Linked DNA regions of Homo sapiens: region 2 is linked to region 1. Evidence: promoter capture Hi-C in 16 types of primary human blood cells and fetal thymus (Javierre and others, 2016). All regions are on one chromosome and are shown on one strand. The core of a region is centred on a gene start or on the middle of the fragment in contact, and the rest is flanking DNA. Distances in the headings are between cores, read along the strand shown. Region 1 holds the start of IFIT2 (interferon induced protein with tetratricopeptide repeats 2). Region 2 has its middle 24 kb from the start of SLC16A12.

Region 1 (2,979 bases), core at 262-2,761:
AAGTTAGAGAAGCTGATGCCAGACACTTGCTTCCTGGGCTCTGGCTTGTGAGGACCTATTCTCCCGATTCCTATAGAAGTTCCAGTTGTATACACAACAACAACAATTTCTTCCTTTGCCTCTTATCTGGATGAAAGCCACAGTGACATTATCAACCAGGCTCAGAACTAATGCTACCACCGCAGTCTCAGAATCACTGAGGAGCCTTTTAGAAACACACATCCTCAGACTCTAACCCAGACCCACTTAATGAGAATCTCTGGGGAGTCAACCCTAGGACTCTGTCCTTAATAAGCTGTCCAGGCAATTTTTATGCATGCTCAATTTTGAGAACCACTGTCTTAGGGCACAAGGGCAATGCCCAGTGAAAGTCACAATAGATAAAGAATTAAGGAAAGAAAGGACAGATGGGTCTGTATTGTAATGGGAAAAATTCTAAGATAAGACCATGCTAAAATTCTAAGAAATAAGAAAAGGGTTCTATAGATTCTGGGTGACTACAAAAAAAAGAAATCTGTAAATATCTCAAATCTTTTTTTTTTTTTTTGAAATCAGGCAGAACATTTAGACTAGCAGGAAATAATATCGTTTCAAGAAGAGAAATCAGGAACCTCACAGACAGAGGGCAAGGTGTCTCATAGGAAGTAAGCACAGGGGTTGGTAACACGGGATTCCAGAGCTCCCAGGATGAGGGTTAGGCAACCAGGTCCGGCCACCCCACCTTCAAACTGGAGAAAATATTTCCCTTCCTATTCAATGAGCTAACACTTCCTCTCCAGGGCAGTCTCATGTTTTGGGGATAGAAGGGAATGTTAGAGGTGAGAACAGAACTATTTTCTCCAAGCACTCCATCTCTAATTCATACTCAGGAGGCATTTTGGGGTGAAAATATTTAAGTTTACCAGCCCTTGTGCAAATCTGAGATGAAGAACTACATTAAAAGTAAAATTCACCTTTGCAGGAAGTGGGGTTTGCTATTCTGTGTATATCTTTAACAGTATCTGCTGAAAAGAACCCTTTTGTTAAATAATTGTATTACAAGTCCCCAACTTAATCCTTTCAAATATGAAATAAGACAGGGTCAGTGCACAAGAGCAATGCCCCCAGACCCATCTTTAAGTGAAGCACCAGGCCGATGAAACATCATCCCTCTCTGCTGCCTTCTTTCTCTGATTGCAACTCAACTCCCCAGGCGTGCAGTTCTGGAGATGAATTTAGGAAGCTTGCCAGTGTGAAGCAGAAAATTGTTCAGGAGGGAACAAACCACCATTGGTAAGACAGATTTACAACCAACAGAGGTAGAGGCATAGTAAGGCTATAAACAAACACTAAAATGGAGCTGGCCCTCTTTGGGAACATAGCTTCTCAGGATTTGCATTGGACAAGATGACTCAACAGCACTACCGAATACGAAGGGAAAATATTTACCTCATGGTTGCAGTGCAATTCTCAGCTGTTCGGCAGGGCTCGGTTCAGGCAGCTGCACTCTTCAGAAATCTTCCTCTTCTGCCACCAATAAATGCTGAAGAGACCTATATATACAAGTGGCCTCTGGTTCCTTTTTGTTTGTTTCCCTTCAGCTGACGTTACAAAAGGGAAAGTGAAACTAGAAAGTGAAATTGGCAGGACTCTTTTTCTTTTTTTCTTTTTATTATACTTTAGAGGACTCTTTTTCCTCCGGAGCTGAGTTGTGATCAGAGAAAGAAGGCAGCAGAGAGGGATGTTTCATCGGCCTGGTGCTTCACTTAAAGATGGGTCTGGGGACATTGCTCTTGTGCACTGTCCCTCTCTTATTTCATATTCGAAAAGATTAAGTTGGGGACTTGTAATACAATTATTTAACAAAAGGGTTCTTTTCAGCAGATACTGTTAAAGATATACACAGAATAGCAAACCCCACTTCCTGCTAAGGTGAATTTTACTTTTAATGTAGTCCTTCATCTCAGATTTGCACAAGGGCTGGTAAACTTAGATATTTTCACCCCAAAATGCTCTTGAGTAAGAGCCAAGCCCAGCTGCGTAGTGAGTTAGAAGAACTTCCTCTTTGTGGAATGTACTGATGGCATCAAGGGAGCACAACTCCTAGGAGGACACATTTACAAAGCTCCCTGCCTTGTGATTACCATATTAACCCATCTTTGCTCTGCCTTATACCAATATGATCCACAGGCCACTGTAAGGAGCAGTTATTTAGCCTCGACAGGGCAGGGGATTTTAGTCTGAATCATTGCTGAATCTCCAGTCCCTGCAAAACAACCTGCACATTGCATGGTATGGCAAGCATTCCAAAAGTAGTTGTTGACTAAATGAATACATGATTAGAAGCATGGGCAGTGATGTCTGTCTATCTGGATTTGAAATCAGCTTCCACCTTTATGCTATGAAACTCTGGGGAAAATTATTGAATGTCTCTGCTTCGGTTTTGTAAATTGGGAATAATACAACTACTGGTTTATTGTGGTGTTGGGAGGATGAAATGAGAGAATACGTGAAATGTCCTTAGAATAATGCCTGGCAGTAATAAGTAAATGCTAGTTTCTATTATAATTATTAACTAAAATCGTTAACCAAAGTGATCAGAGGGGAAACTCTTTTTTTCAGGCTGGAGTGCAGTGGAAAGATCCTGGCTTACTGCAACCTCCACCTCCCTGGTTCAAGTGATTCGCCTCAGCCTCTCGAGTAGCTGGGATTACAGGCACGCACCACCACGCCCGGCTAATTTTTGTATTTTTAGTAGAGATGGGGTTCCACCATGTTGGCCAGGCTGGTCTCGAACTCCTGATCTCAGGTGATCTGCCCGCCTTGGCCTGCCAAAGTTCTGGGATTACAGGCGTGAGCCACCACGCCCGGCCAGGGGAAATTTCAATGTTGGCTTTTTCCAGAACTTTATCTCCTCTGACATTCAACAATCCATCACAATTACTGACCTAAGCCAAACAATTCCTAACATCTCCTTATGTTCTTGGCTTCCCCAAGCCC
Region 2 (3,012 bases), core at 119-2,618, 260 kb before region 1:
TGAATGAGAGCTATTACTTCACATTTGTCAGTATTTGATGCTGTTAGAGTTTTGGATTTTAGCCATTCTAATAGGTATGTAGTGGTATCTCATTGTTTTAATATGCAATTCCCTAACAACATGTGATATCAAGCGTCTTTTCAATGCCTTATTTGCTATCTGTATATCATTTTTGGTGAAGTGTCTATTCAGATCTTCTTTTTATTTTTTAACTAGGTTCATTTTCTTGTTATAAGTTTTATTACAAACTTTTTATTTTTTTACTTTTTTAATTTTTAAAGATGGGGTCTCGCTATATTGCCCAGGCTGGCCTCAAATTCCCGGGCCAAAGTGATCATCTTTCCTCAGCCTCTCAAGTAGCTGGGACCACAGGTGTGCGCCACGACTCCCAGCTCATCATGGATTTTTTTTTTTTTAATTGTGGAGATTTTAGTAAATGTGGACAAGCACAGAAAAAAAAATTATATAACTCAGAAATAACCAAAACATTTTGTTTTATACCCTTTGGATCTATTTTCAGTGTACATGTATGTAAATATTGTTCTATGTCATGTATTAAAAAATTGGGATAGCATTCAACAATGTAGAAACCCTACAGTGGTTTATAAGTGTTTTCCCAATTAGTAATATTTGTATAGGTCCATGTCTTCTTTGCCACCATTTCACTCAGTTCTAGATGCTTCCCATATGTATTCCTTTGTTTCAAATTATGCCAAACTCTTCACTGTGGCTGAATGATTGAGTTGGCCTTCAATCATTCTTCCTTGAAAATCCATAATGAAGTCAAGCAATGTAAATACAGTGTGAAAAGTTTTCTGTAAATCTCTAACAGATTTTTATCAAATAATTTTTTTAAGTGTACCATAAGCTGTTCCTCATTTACATTTTTCTGACTTACAGCTTGGTGTAGTTTGGGATTTAGAGAGACTAAATTAAAATCCTGGGTCTAGGTGGTGACATATGCTATTTAACCTGCCCAATTTTATTTTTCTTACATTTAAAGATGGGAATAATAACATCTAATTTGTAGGGTTGTTGGAAGATAATGAATAGTAACCAACAACCGCCTAATTCAGTGCATTGCCTGGCATCTAGTGACCCTTCAGGATTGCTAGTAGGTATCATGTGCAAGTATGCTAAGGGGGTACTAAAATCTGACTTGGCGTTTTTATGAGTGATTGCCAATGCTATTTATTCATTCAGTAAACATTTCCTAATTATCTGTTGTGTCTATATAAGTATTTAAGTACTATGGATACCGAGACAGAAAGAAAAAGCTTTCTTGTCCTCAAGAGGCTTGCTGTCTGGTGGGCAAGGTAGAGAAGTAAAGCACCAGCTACAATGCAATGCAATAGACACTAGGATAGGGTTGTGCATAGGGTGACAAGGTGCTACGAGGGCATGCTTGTCTAATCAGGATGGGGGGCAGTTTTCCAGAGAAGGCCATAATTAAGCTTGACTTGAAGTATAAAAGGAGTCCGCTTAGGTAGACAGAGATGGCGTGGAAGGGTGAAGAACACAATCTATTTGGAGAACTGTAAAAGGTTCTATATGTAGGTATTACAGGAGTTATTAAGAAATTATTTTAGGCAGCTAGAGAGGGTAAAAGAGTCCTCAGTAAGTCTTTTTCGTTTAATAAAAAAGCGGTCCCCCAAATATTTATTATCTAACAGAAAGCAGCCTGAAAAACCAGACCTGCAAGTATTGATATGCAAATGCAGATGGTTAAGAGTCAGGTCCAGCCAATATGGCGGTTCCTGCTACTTTTTCTTTGTTGCCACGTGTACAGGTGTCATGGCGACCAGCCAGGTAGCCGCATTTGCATAATAAAAGGCTAGGGTGGGAGGGCCAGTTTTTTTGGGGGGGCTACCTGAATGACACACGTGGTTAAACCAATCCCCTGTGCCCTATGCTAATTAGACACCACCTCCTCCAGCCTCCCAATATAAACCACTGCTTTCCTCTGCACGCGGGTTTTCGGTTCAGAGCCCTCCTCCCTCTGTACGGGGAGCTATTCTCTCCTTTCTTGCCTATTAAACTTTCTACCCCTTAATCCACTCCACGTGTGTCCACGTCGCTAATTTTCACCACACGAGATAAAGGACACCGCAACTGAGCGGTGTAATAGGGAGTAACATTGCCTTGGGCAGCTGTAGGAGACGACCCCAAGAGATAGTTTCAGCAGACATCATTATCTGGGTTAGCTGTTGCCCTTGCTCTAATTCCACTTCTTTTTTTGAGTAGAATTTGAACTTCTGCCCTAGTTCATCTGTTCCAGTCGCATCAGCCTCCTTGTGTTTCCTCAAGTATACCAAGCACACTCCAAACTCAGGGTGCCTTCATTTTGCCCCTTTCTCCTTTTCCGTGCTTTCCCTCCAGATGACCACAGCCACACTCCCCTGCCTCCTTCAGGTTGCTGCGTGAATGCCACGACCCGGACCACACACTATTTTTTTTTTTTTTTTGAGACAGAGTCTCGCTCTGTCGCCCAGGCTGGAGTGCAGTGGCACAATCTCAGCTCACTGCAACCTCTGCCTCCAAAATTCAAGCGATTCTCCTGCCCAGCCTCCTGAGTAGCTGGGATTACAGGCGCCTGCCACCATGCCCAGCTAATTTTTGGATTTTTCGTAGAGATGAGGTTTCACCATGTTGGCCAGACTGGTTTCAAACTCCTGACCTCAAGTGATCCGCTTGCCTCAGCCTCCCAAAGTGCTGGGATTACAGGCATGAGCCACTGTGCCTGGCCGTGGACTACATTCTTTTTTTTTTTTTTTTTGAGGTGGAGTCACGCCCTGTCACCCAGGCTGGAGTGCAGTGGTATGATCTCAGCTCACTGCAACCTCCACCTCCCTAGTTCAAGCGAGTCTCCTGCCTCAGCCTCCCGAGTAGATGGGACTACAGGCATGTGCCACCACACCCAGCTAATTTTTGTATTTTTAGTAGAGATGGGGTTTCACCATGTTTTCCAGGCTGGTCTCGAACTCCTGGCCTCAGGTAATCTGCCTGCCTTGG

Evidence for each region. The method cuts DNA at HindIII sites, captures the fragments that hold promoters and counts their contacts. A CHiCAGO score of 5 or more calls a contact.
Region 2: a fragment that was not itself captured here is called in contact with the fragment with the promoter of IFIT2 in region 1 in 9 of 17 cell types (total CD4 T cells, total CD8 T cells, naive B cells and 6 more); the score reaches 13.0 in total CD4 T cells.

The regions. Positions count from the first base shown.
Region 1 is chr10:89,300,578-89,303,556 of GRCh38, reverse strand. It overlaps IFIT2 (interferon induced protein with tetratricopeptide repeats 2), which reads right to left and starts at 1,511. Exons shown (of 2, transcript NM_001547.5): 1 at 1,429-1,511. The coding sequence starts at 1,433. LOC105378419 (a long non-coding RNA gene) reads left to right here and starts at 1,654. Exons shown (of 3, transcript NR_188200.1): 1 at 1,654-2,271. It also overlaps a transcript of LIPA not described here. RefSeq lists an enhancer at 1,484-1,803. The HindIII fragment of the contact is 3,117 bases long and covers 1,225-2,979 here.
Region 2 is chr10:89,557,876-89,560,887 of GRCh38, reverse strand. No RefSeq gene overlaps it. Among named protein-coding and RNA genes, the nearest start is that of SLC16A12, 24 kb to the right of the region's middle. RefSeq lists an enhancer at 1,495-2,019. The HindIII fragment of the contact is 177 bases long and covers 1,280-1,456 here.